3 separate regions of the Homo sapiens genome follow, and all the other regions are linked to region 3. Evidence: promoter capture Hi-C in human tissues and cell types (Jung and others, 2019). All regions are on one chromosome and are shown on one strand. The core of a region is centred on a gene start or on the middle of the fragment in contact, and the rest is flanking DNA. Distances in the headings are between cores, read along the strand shown. Region 1 holds the start of KRTAP17-1 (keratin associated protein 17-1). Region 2 holds the start of KRT14 (keratin 14). Region 3 holds the start of SMARCE1 (SWI/SNF related BAF chromatin remodeling complex subunit E1).

What was found. The method cuts DNA at HindIII sites, captures the fragments that hold promoters and counts their contacts. A contact is called where the count stands out against the background at its distance.
Region 1: the fragment with the promoter of KRTAP17-1 here is called in contact with the fragment with the promoter of SMARCE1 in region 3 in 1 of the 25 tissues and cell types used here (IMR-90 fibroblasts).
Region 2: the fragment with the promoter of KRT14 here is called in contact with the fragment with the promoter of SMARCE1 in region 3 in 1 of the 25 tissues and cell types used here (dorsolateral prefrontal cortex).

What each region holds. Positions count from the first base shown.
Region 1 is chr17:41,314,340-41,318,563 of GRCh38, forward strand. KRTAP17-1 (keratin associated protein 17-1) reads right to left here and starts at 1,371. Exons shown (of 1, transcript NM_031964.2): 1 at 573-1,371. The coding sequence starts at 1,311. The coding sequence ends at 994. The HindIII fragment of the contact is 6,672 bases long and covers 1-4,224 here.
Region 2 is chr17:41,585,147-41,588,977 of GRCh38, forward strand. It overlaps KRT14 (keratin 14), which reads right to left and starts at 1,749. Exons shown (of 8, transcript NM_000526.5): 1 at 1,164-1,749. The coding sequence starts at 1,688. LOC124904003 (a long non-coding RNA gene) reads left to right here and starts at 3,201. Exons shown (of 2, transcript XR_007065755.1): 1 at 3,201-3,390; 2 at 3,717-3,805. RefSeq lists an enhancer at 151-652. The HindIII fragment of the contact is 15,142 bases long and covers 1-3,831 here.
Region 3 is chr17:40,645,048-40,649,076 of GRCh38, forward strand. SMARCE1 (SWI/SNF related BAF chromatin remodeling complex subunit E1) reads right to left here and starts at 2,771. Exons shown (of 11, transcript NM_003079.5): 1 at 2,726-2,771; 2 at 749-800; 3 at 529-572. The coding sequence starts at 755. RefSeq lists a silencer at 3,010-3,304. The HindIII fragment of the contact is 9,510 bases long and covers 1-4,029 here.

The DNA of each region.
Region 1 (4,224 bases), core at 121-2,620, 670 kb after region 3:
TTTCCATTCAGAACCAATCTTGTTTTACCAAAGCCTCCTTTCCGACTTTGCCAGAAAGTTCTGATCAAGCCTGAAGCCCTCCTGCAGAACCATCCTAGGAGAGCTGTAGTGCAGAAGAAAGCCATGCCCCTCAATCACCATTAAATGTGGCCAGCATCAGCATTCACCCAGGAGCTTTTAAAAATGCAGGTCCCTAGGGACTCTAGGCCCTAGAGCTAACGGGTAAAATCTCCAGTGATAAAACCCAATGATCTATATTTTTAAAAGCTTTTCAAGTGAATCTCATGCAGCACACGGAAGCTTCCGTCTAGATCTATGGTTCTCAAACTTCAGTGCATAAGAATTATCTAAGGTTCTTGTTAAAAACACAGATTCCCAGGCCACACTTTGGTGGATTCTGATTCTGTATGTCTTAGGGAGGGCCTCAGAGTCTCCAGTTTTAACAAGCTCCCAGGTGATTCCGACGCAGGTGATCCAAAAACCACAATTCAAAAACCCTAAGGCAGATGCCAGAGTGAATTTTTCTAACCCAGTCCTCAGCAGGGAGGTCAAGGAAGAGGCAAGAGAACTAATTAGGTTATGCCAGCATGCTCAAATTTATTAAGAGGCTCACAAAGAAGATGGACCTTTTTTGCATCTCAAAGCTGCAGAAAGCCAGGGCGGAGGATCAGTCCCAAAGACACCTTGAAGAAGAGGATGTCTTATAGTACAAGACATTGAACTTCATGTGAATAAGTAAAGTATTGGGGATTCACCCTTGAGCTTGGGATCACTTAGTTGTGACCGAGTTTTAATGTTTCATCAGAGTATGGCTCTTGTTCTCGGTGCCTTGAAATACCAGAGAAGGTGTTGGAGAACAAGCCCTCCTCTACAAATCACAGAAAGACAAGACACTGTCTTGGGGGTATGGAAGGTTCTGGACACGAGGGGCTGTCCCCCTGGAGCAGATGGAGGCTTTCGGTGGGACTGCATCAGTGGTGGAGGGAAAGGTCTTCATTTTGTGTCGCATATAGGTGTGGGCTGGCAGCACACAGGCCCACAGCACCCGGAGCCGCAGCAACTGGACCCACAGCAACTGGATCCACAGCAGCCACCCCCGCAGCCTCCGCAGCCTCCACAGCCTCCGCAGCCAGATCCACAGCAAGACGATCCGCAGCAGCTGCCCCCGCAGCCAGAGCCCCCGCAGCCAGAGCCCCCACAGCCACAGCAGGAGCCGCAGCAGCCACAGCAGCCCGGCTGACAGCAGCACTCTTCACAGCAGTTTTGCTCCTGGGTGCAGCAGGTGAAGCAGTCCCCCGGGCAGCACCCCATGGTCCGGGCCCGTCAGCTCGCAGGTCGGTAACGCAGCCGGAGTTCCCCACGACTGACGGTGGCCAGCCATCTGGATGGCAGCTTTTATATCCCCTCACCCAGGCATGAGGGACGGGATGTTTTCTTTGTTATTATTTATGCAAGTTTCCATAAGACCGGCTCATTAACTGGCTGTTTATTTTCCAGTCCTGAGTACCTCAACTCATAAAAACGCCCCACTCCTGCCAACTGCTGTTTATCCAGAGGGTAAAAATACATCTTCGAAAAGACCTGTCATCATGGCCAAGCATCTGCCAGCTGTCATTAGCCCAGGTTGGAGATGGGAAGGGGAAGCCGGCCACAGCTTCTGGCTCTGGAATGAGGGGCTTGCCTTCCACATCTTCGCAGGTTGGCGATGGACCCCATCTTCCATGGATGCTAGTCCTGGAAAGGCAGACCGGCAACAGCCGAATGCTCTGTTCCCCCTGACACCAGTGGAGGCTACTGAGAACGCCTGGTCACGTGGCTCCTCCCAGGTGGAAATGGCATCCTCATCCCGGTTCATGTGAGCCAGGCAAATGTTTGTGTCTGTGTGTGGTATGGGGAGTGTGCCACACGTTTAGGCTTGGCCGGTGAGCATCAGTCATGAGTAATAACTGCCCTGTGAAACCGAGAGAGACTCATCGTAAAGCTGCAAGAAGCTGGTAAGGCATGGTCTGTCTCGGCGGCAAGGTGAGCTGAATATTCGCACTTCTCTCTAAATAGGTGGGAAGAACTGAGATCAGAACCCTCTACCCACCCCCACTCCAGCCCCAGGCCTTTCCTTGACCGGGGAAGGAAGAGATGCAGGAGGAGGAAGAAGAGGAGAAGGGGAGGAAGAAAGGAAAGAAGAAAAGAAAGAAGAAAGCAGGAAGGAGATCAGTAAATATCCAAAATGCTACATTAAAATGGGAATGTAACGCACTTTTTTTAAGAGTTCGAACCTTATAGACCATCTGGCAGAAGGAGAAATTAGAATACAAAATACCCAGAGTGTCATCCCAAGGAATAAAATGCCTTTGCAAGGAGTCTAAAATCTACAGATGGTTCAGGTCCATGTGTAAATTTTGAGATGGGTCAAAATTTCTGTCTCTTTCTTGGACTTTGGTACCTTGTTCTCCTCTTGGAGTGCCCATGGCAGCCCTGGAGCTGGAATACAACATCTAGTAGGGGTAGAGGACAGAAGATAGGGGTGGGGTGGGAATGGAAGGAGGGATGGGAGTAAGGATCTGGATCAAGGGATCTAGTCCTTCCCTTTTCATTTCCCTTTCTTTGTAAGATGGGCTAGAAGTAAGACAGCCTCTAAGAAGGGCTAGAAGAACTAAGGACAGGGTGGGAGTCGGGAGGGTAAATGATGAATGAGTTACTTGGATCTGATATGATACTCAATACTTCACAGGATATGGAATTTTAGAGCTGGGAGGAACCCCTGAAACATCATCTGGTCCAGGGTTTTATATCAGAATTGCCTAAAAGGGGGCCTTTTGAAAAATACAGATTCCCAAACTGTATTCCAGTCCTTATGATAAATCAGAATGTGTGCTTATGAGAGCTTGAGAAGCTATATATTTTAAACTTTCTCAGGTAACTTGGGTTACATTAGGAAACACTGATATAATCTAATCCTATCATGACCATCACTGCCAAGCACTTGTGTTTTACAGAAGATGATACCAAGGCCCAGAGATGACACATCCGTGGTAGATTGGACCCATGGCCCAGATGTTCTCCCTCCTGGTCCACTGTTTCTTCCACCATACCACATCCACAGATGGGCACCTCTGAGTGAGTATAATACAGCAATGTCTATGGCAGACGTGTCCTTTTTTGTTTGTTTGTTTGTTTTTTTGAGATGGAGTCTCACTCTGCTGCCCAGGCTGGAGCGCAGTAGCTTGATCTTGGCTCATGGCAACTTCCGCCTCCTGGGCTCAAACGATGCTCCTGACTTAGCCTCCCAAGTACCTGGGATTACAGGCACGCACCAACAAGCCCAGCTAATTGCTGTATTTTTAGTAGAGACAGGGTTTCGCCATGTCGCACAGGCTGGTCTGGATCTCCTGACCTCAAGTGATCTGCCCGCCTCGGCCTCCCGAAGTGCTGGGATTACAGGCGTGAGCCACTGCACCCGGCCGACACATCCTTTTACATATTTATTTATTTTAATAAGAGGTCAAGCATTCCCAGGATAAAAGGTACAAAAGAGTAGAAAGTCTTCCTCATCTTCCAATGTCTCACCATTCAGTTCTCCTGCCTCTCACCCACCCCCTCGCTGCTCCCATAATTACTTAACCCCTGTGTACCTGAATTTCTTCATCTATAAAACAGAAATTAGGATAATAATAGTAGCAGTGTCGTAGAGCTGTTTTGATTAAATGAGTAAATATAAATGTATACATATTGAACACTTGGTTGTTTGAACAACTTGAAAATATAAATTATCATACTTTTATATTTAACAATTCATATACTCATGAGCATTTACTCAGATTAAGTACAACATTCAGTGTGCAACTCAAATTATACACTATGATTTCAATTGTGTAAATGTACATGTCATGATGAGGACTTGAAGTCCTCATGGTGGTGTTATTTTTCTTCTGCAATTTATTTCACTGTTGGTCTTTCCACACAAATTGGGCAGCAGTAGGGACTTTTTATATTTACTGCCCCCAGGGTAGGGTTATTACTGTAGAAATGCAGAGAGAATGACTTAGGTCAATGCTTAGCTTATACAATTCAAAGTAGACTTTTGCAATGCAGGAGAGTGGGTGGTCAGATGACCAGGTCCATCTAGCCGCCTGGATGGGGTAATGAGAGGATGTAGACGTAGAGGATGTAGTTCTTTTGTGGACTAAAAGAACTCTAATATCTTGGTTGATGCCATGAGAGGGATGA
Region 2 (3,831 bases), core at 499-2,998, 940 kb after region 3:
TCTTGCCTGAATCCCCCTTTTCCCCCACAAAACTTGACCATAGCAGCCCAAAGGAAAACAGATGCCCCAGGCCTGTCCTAAGACTTTGCTAACTCATGGTCAACAGAGGGGGTAGATGCAGCCCCGGGCTTAGAATCGAAAGCCCAGGAGTTCTGGTCCCAATTCTGCCAGTGTCTTGCTGCAAAACCTAATGGGTCTTGGGGCTTCAAGTTCCCCACCTCCAGGTGAGGAGAATAATCTGAGGCTCCCTAGCCCTCCTTCCTGAGCTGACCTCTCTTCTGTCTGCATCAGCCAGCCCTGCCAGTCCTCTGCAGATATGCACATTCCTTTTCAAGCTCACAGGCCATGGGACTTCAAGTGGAACTTTCTCAAGAGATAAAACCCAACTAACACAGGGGATTAGAAAAGAGGACTCAGGGGAAGAATAAGAAGATATATTGGCCCCTGAGTCTGGTTGGATTTCCCCACCTCATCATTGAATTTCCCTAATCCATGCAAGTCATTAGAGCCCAACAGACTCCAGCAGGGAGGGCTCCCAAGTAATGTGGGAGCAGGGAGGAGGGGGCTAGAGTCAGGGCACAAGCCTGCCAGGCTCTCTCTGTGCAGGGCACATCAAGGGACCACACTAATTGTCTCTGCAGGCTCTCCATGCCCGCCTGGCTGTGGGGAGGGACCAGCCTGTACCAAGGCTTATGGGCGGCGGCAGCCACAGCCCAGACTAGTGAGCTAATGAGTGGTTTGGATGTCTTGCCTGGTCCCGTTAGAGCCTCACTCCTCCCCTGTGCTGGAGAACAAGTAGCTGCCTCCTGTGCTGGAAGGTAGGGCACAAGGGCCCCAGCCTTGGCTCTGCCATTAATTTGCTATGTGACCTGCAGCTGGTCACAGCACCTCTCGAAGCTTCAACTGCTTCCTCTAAAAAATGTAAGGATAGGAATCACTGATCTCACATGGTCTGAGGATTTGAGATCAGAAGGGGATGAGGAGGCTGGGGAAGGGAAAGCATCTTCTCACTGATCAGTCTTAGGGCATCCAAGACCTCGAAAGAAGGGATCTGGGGTGGACTCTGTCCTATAGAGAAATCTTAAGGTCTCAGGGGCCTGGGGCATGAATTGTTCCCAGAAGGAGCTAGCTGGAATGGTGCCTTCTGCTGCCCATTCACCCACCTTGTTCCTCAGGTCCTCAATGGTCTTGAAGTAGGGACTGTAGTCTTTGATCTCAGCAGGCCGCTGCCTCTGGTACCAGTCACGGATCTTCACTTCCAGGTCGGCGTTGGCCTCCTCCAGAGCACGCACCTTGTCCAGGTAGGAGGCCAGGCGGTCATTGAGGTTCTGCATGGTCACCTTCTCACTGCCCACCAGAAGCCCATCACCACCAGCAAAGCCACCACCAAAGCCACCACCCAAGCCAGCACCAAGGCCACCACCATATCCTCCCCCAAAGCCACTACCAAAGCTGCTGCTGCTGCTGCTGAAGCCACCGCCATAGCCGCCCCCCAGCCCGCAGGCTCCCCCAGAGGAGAAGCGGGAGGATGAGACAGACAGGCCGCCCCCGTAGGTGCTGGGGGCGCGGCAGGACCCTCCGGCCAGGACGGAGGAGATGCGGCTGGAGCCGCCCCCGATGCCGCCCCCGATGCCGCAGGAGCCCTTCATGGAGCTGGAGGAGGTGAACTGGCGGCTGCAGGTGGTCATGGTGCAGAGGAGGGAGGTGAGCGAGCGAGCAGTTGGCTGAGTGAAGAGAAGGTGCTCGGGTAAATTGGAAAGGGATGCGAGTGCTTTATACTCGTGGGTAGGGGGCGGGTCTGGCACTTTCCATTCCCCTTGGCTTTCATCACCCACAGGCTAGCGCCAACTCCCAGCCAGGTCCCTCCTCTCATCCGCCTCATCATGTCTGTCATATTTTACTGGAAACTCATTGTTTGGAGTGTTTTGGGCTTTCTTGTCCCGCCAGGCGTGATTCACAGGGGGAGGTGTGGGCCTGCAGGCTACACTTTCCCATCGGACCCTGGGAGTCCCAGCCCTCAGGAACCCGCGCACTGGGCTTAGCCAGGGTGACAGAGAGCAGGGCCTCTGCACCTTAAACCTAGTTACCTGCTAGCTCTCCATGAACTGAATGGGCCTTTAACATCCACGTAGAGGAAGCCTGCTGCTGCAGGGGATGGATACCCGGCTGGAAAGCACCGGCATGGCAAGGTCACCTTGGGCACAGACAGGCCTCCCTCACCATGACCCTCTATTAGAGACAAGGAGGTCTGGGGGGCCCTCCCAGGCCTGACCTCCCATGCTGTGCTGAGAAGTCTGTCCCATCCCTGAAATACACCCAGCTAGTCAGGTGTATCGTGGTTCCCACCCCAACATCCCCATCAAAGAGAAATCCAGGCAGCTCTCCCCAGCCCTGAGCACAGACCCTAATCTCCTCCCTATGGTGAGGATCTCACATCCACCACACCATAGGGCAGGTGGCCTCATGGAGGCCAGGAAACAGCCTGGAGTCAGGTGGGTCCTGGCTCTGCCATTTACGCCTCTGTGACCCAGGGCTTGGCACTTCTCTGAGCCTCAGTGTTCTCATCTGCAAAGTGGGAGTCATACCATCTATTCTGCTTAGTGCAGTCAGCTCTGAGAATCCAATGCGACAATGTATGTGAAAGGGTTTTGTAAACCGAGTATGGCAAGAAGCCTCGTTGGCATTGTTATAGCCCAGGCTTAGCCCCAAAGTGGCTGGAGCTGCATCCAGGAACAGGCCTAGGGGGGCCTTTTATTCTTCCAGCCCCAGATATCTTCTCAGACCCCCAGAACATCCCTAGTGTGGGCAGCTCAGGCGCCCTCGTTTGAGCCCCTTGTGGAACTGGCCCAGGAGATGTTCTGGGGAGGAGTAGAGGCTGGAGTGGAGCTGGGCTGTGCCAAGGGCAAGGCTGAGGTGGACACGAGGGTCCCTGACTCCTGAAGCCCCAAGGGTCAGGGGACATTTCTAGGAGTCCACTTGGTCCTGCTTTGGAGGTGTGTATATCAAAACTTCAGCAATCTCCCAGACAACCTCCCAAAGCAAACCCTTCCGGCCCCCACCCCACCCTCCCATCAGCCCCTAGGCTCCACAGACCCCGGCAGGCATGTTGAGAGGAATGTGATCGTGTCTGGGGCTGCCTGACGCATCCTATCTCCTCAGACAGGCCCCAACAGCCCCTGCTGGAGGCTCCAATGCTCTTCCTGGGATCAACTGCTCCTAGAAGAGAAGCAGGACCCTCTGTCACCCCCAACCCCACCTTGACTGTCACCAAAGAAGAAGCCAGAGAAGGGAGCCCCCCACTACTGTGGCCTAGGAGCTTGGAAGACAATGCTGAGACAGACATCTGAGCTGTGGGCTCCCCAAATCTGCCAGCAAAGGACTCTCAAGGATGTGAGTAAGCCAGGGCCCCACCCCGCTCCACCCGCCCCTGACAGACACTCCTAATCTCCCTGCAGAGAATGGTCCCCCCACCCTGGCCCAGCCCTACAATTTCCCCAGAGAGAGGCAACAGGGGTTTTGGCTGAGGGACAGATGCTTTTGTTGGGAGGCATGTTGCTGTTGGCTGTGGGGCAAGGGGAGGCTGTGCTCACTGGAGAAAAATGCTGTGTCCAGAGGGATCTGGGAGCGGGAATGGGGTGCAGAGCCCAGTACCGGCTTCCTCTGTGCCCCACCACCCCCACCCACCACCACCACCACCATGTCTCCTTCTTATGCAGGGATCAGGAATAGAAGCTCCGGAGCCCGGGACATAGGAACAGCTCTACTTTCCCTTTCATTTCATTCAATAAAACCCAAAAGAAACTCCTTCCTCCCCCTCCTCCGAGGGGAATC
Region 3 (4,029 bases), core at 1,521-4,020:
GGAGTGGAATAAGATTCAATAGCAAGATCTGCCCCATAGATAATGAAATCTTTACTTGAACAGCTTGAAAATATTTACAATGAGTAGTTTCAGAAGCTTTATTGTTTAATATGAAAATTTTAGAGAGAGACAAGAAAGGAGAGAAAAACATAACCAGTTGAAGGTTAGGTTTAACAAAATAGCCAGAATGAGCATTCACTCAGTAACAACTTAAAGACTCTTAATAGTGAAGATTAATAAGAAAGAAATGGTAAAACTTTCACTTATTTCCCATTTACAAAGAAAAAACAAAACAAACTGAGCACAGGAGGTTGGAGTTTTACAGTACTGTTTCTTTAAATGTTGGGGTTGGTTCAAGGAAAGATGCAAATAATTATTTTATTTAGTAGGAAGTGCTTTTTTTTTTTTCTTTTAAGCTGAATTTCATCCTGTTGCTGTGATGATTGAGTGACTGTCACTGGAAGACATCTGGGTTTTTGTATCAAGGCCAGAGTTGGCTATTACATTAACAAGAAAATTAAAACTTACTGTTGCAGGAGCTGGGGTGGGAGGTGGGGCATAAGATGGTCTTTCTGTTTGAAAGAAAATAAATAACTTCTTGTAAACAACTGAGATATAATACTATGCAACAAAACTACCAATGGTCCTGTTTTGAAGAAAAAAAAATGAGAGTATTTTGGAATTCCCACTTGCTAGGGCATTAGTCTCTTATTAACATAGATTGATAAATATAAAAATTGAAACTTACTTGACATTTTGGAAGATTAAGTTCTCAGTTCCTTAAGAATGAATCTGAGACACTAAAATAAAAAAAAAAGGAAAAAAAAAAGAGAATCAAAACTCAGCAAGCATACGAGAATGTTTTCCTAATGAATAGGGTAATTTAATTGGTATTTCTGAGTAAAATTACTTCACCTTAATTCCTAGTAATTAAGCCTTTTGTGTATTTTAACTAGTTCTTATAGGTCATTTGGTTGATTAGAATTAAATGACTAAAATAAAGTACTGGGGATATTTAGAAATGTACTTTCAGGTTTTTTCTTGTGATACTAAGCTACCTCTTGTATGGAAAACATTTTGCTGACGCCATGTAAACATTTCATCAGACTGATACAAGGATGAGAATAGAAAGTGATGTATTATCAGGGTCCAACGCAACAAGGCCTACCAGATACTGACAGCTCCCTGATCAGCAACTGTATCATGCTTTTGGGATAACAATTTTTATTAAAATTAGGCAGCATTTTATTCCTGGAAGCAGTGCAAAAGGTAATTGGTATGACAATGAACTTCACATTCTCTTATAATGGTAAATAGCTTCATAAATGCTGGGAATAAATTTTGAGAGTCTACCTGAAAAACTTTTATTCATCATTCACAGCCCATTTCAAAATTTTTCTCCTCAAGGGAACTTTCTTGATACATTACCTGGGCAGAATTAACTGCTCCCCCATCTGTATTCCTATACAGTTTACACAGATCTATATTATTATAACTTTTTTTTAACTTATCAATATGGCTAGATTGTATGCTACTTGGAAAGAGGGACCATGTCAGGACCTAGCTCAATTCTTAGGAAATTTTTTCCTAGTATTACCAGCTCACAACATAACCAGGCACATGTGAGCTTGTTCTTTACATCAACATACATCACAAATAGTGAGGTACAAAAAGACAAAAATTCATCTTTGGAAAGAAGGCAAATAAACTTCTATGACTATTGGAGGTATTTGCAACCAAACATGTGGAATAGATCTGATTTTTCGCTTCTATTATTAATTTTAAGGAAATTCCCTGGAGCATAAGGAATGAGTCCTGGTGTGGAAAGAAACAGCTCATTTTCTCAATGGTCCAACCTGAGTCTTTCCCTCTTAAAGAACAGCCAGAAACCTTTGACTCTGGTGTAGATTTCCTTTCTGCTCACATTAAGGGAGCTGTCAACATCCAGCAGGCCTCGCTGCAGGGGACCCTGACAACTAACATAAGCTCCCTGTACGTTATACTTCATTGTTAATACTTTAAAATTATTGCTCTCTTTTGCTAGAATACAAAATTTAAGAGTGGGCTTGTACATTTGTCCACCGTTGGATCCATCTTTGGTGCCTGGCATAAAAATAAATACCCGATAAATATTTGTTCAAGAAATACTTTATACGGGGTACGCTTATGACACTATTTCGCTTAACACTCACAAGTACTTTATATGTACAGCTATCCCCATTTTACAGATGAAACAAGGGAGTCTCGGAAAGTTTAAACAACTTGTCTGAAGCCATATGCAGCCAGGAAGTGCCAAAGTTGGGTTTCAAACCCAGGCCAAACTATTTCAGAGCTCTGCTCGTCCTCAAGTCGCTGCCTGAACCAATGGGGGAACCTTCTGCCCGGGTGGGGGGTGAACCACGGACCTGCCTTGCCCACGGCTTCCTGAGGTCGCTCTCTTTGTCTTGGAGAATGTACTTTACTAGCAACTCCCCTAAAACGGGGTATTCACAGGTGCTTTGACCAATTTCGGGGGACTGGCCTTGCCTCCAAGGAGGGGGCCCCAGATGGGACTCCCTCCCAACCCTCGCTCTGCTAGGCCTCAAGGAGGCCTCAACCGGCTCCTGGCTCTGGCCCCACGGCCAAGGCTGAACCCCAGCAACCCCCGGGAACTCGGGGTCTAGCCAAGCGGGGACACCACGACTTGCACCCACCGACCCGGTCCGTCCCACTTGGAAACACTCACCCGCGGGCAGAAAAAGCGCCCGCAGCTCCGGCTTCGCTTCCCTTTGTCCCGCGCTCGCCCCGCCCCTCGCGTCCGGAGCTTCCGCACTCGCACTTTCCACACTCTTCTTAATTTTTTTTTTTTTCCGGGCCCCACCCGACCCTCTTTAGAAAAACTAACCTTCTAGTGAAGATGCGGTGATGCTTAGCACACTCAGGGATTTTTTTCAGGACCCATTGGATCCTCAAAACTCCCCGAATTTTGATACTTTCCCAGCCGGGCGCTGATTCGTCACGGCGAAGAGGGCCGAGGAGGCCCGACCTAACACAGAATAGGCCTGGGTTTAGCGGCTGTGAGGAGCCGGAGCCGCCGCAGCGACCGAGGAAGTGGCGGGAGGTGCCGAGCCTTGCGGAGGGGCGGTGGGGGCCGCGGTGGGAGACGGCGGATGGCGCTCAGCGCGAGGCCGCGGAACCACTGTGGCAGCAAGCAGTTCGGCCAGACTCCCGCTGAGCCCGCTCCTGGAGGGGCCCTCCCCGACTCCGGTCTTGCTTTCCTTTAGGCTGTGGGTCAGAGTCTACACTTCACTAAACCTGGGATGGAGGCGTGGAGGACTTGCTTCGCGGCGTTTGCGTCCTCGCAGGCGCCTCGCAGGGCTTCCTGCCCTCACGGCGGGGGAGTAGCTTTGGCGAAAATCAGCACGAGTTCTGCAGTTTTTCCAAGCGCTTTTAGGGTGTAATCGTCCCAGGTTTCTAAGCCAAGGCCCGGAGAGTTGACCCCCTCGCAACAGCTTGTGTGTCCTTGCAGCGCCGCGGGTGCCACCTGGTCTCCGCCTCAGCGCTGCCTCGGCTCCTTCGGTTCCCACCAGCGGGAACGACCGTCCCCACTTTCAGCTTAAACTCATCTGTCCTTCTGGATCCAGCTCAGAGGTCTCTTTGTGATGCCCTCCTGGAACTTCCCCCCTAGTAATCCTTCCTTTGTATTCCCGTGGCTCTTTGATAATAATGGTTGGAGTCCTGAACCCGACCCTTTGTATCGGACCGTGTTTGTCATCTCCAGTGCTTTATGAAGGCCTTGAAAGCAAGGTTCAGCCGTCTGTATTGGTCATCTTCCCATTGCCAGTGCCTACGAAGGGCTTGACCCATTCATTGTTAGACGCTCAGTAAGTGTGTATTGAGGCAGCCCTCTGTGCCACTCCAGGGCTCTTTCCACTAAATCATGAGTATGTTGGTTTACCAGATGGAATGAGTAGCCTCTTCTTTGGATACATAAACACCCGATGGATATTGTGGGTCACTGTGGAGGGAGAATGAACGTATGGGATCCCT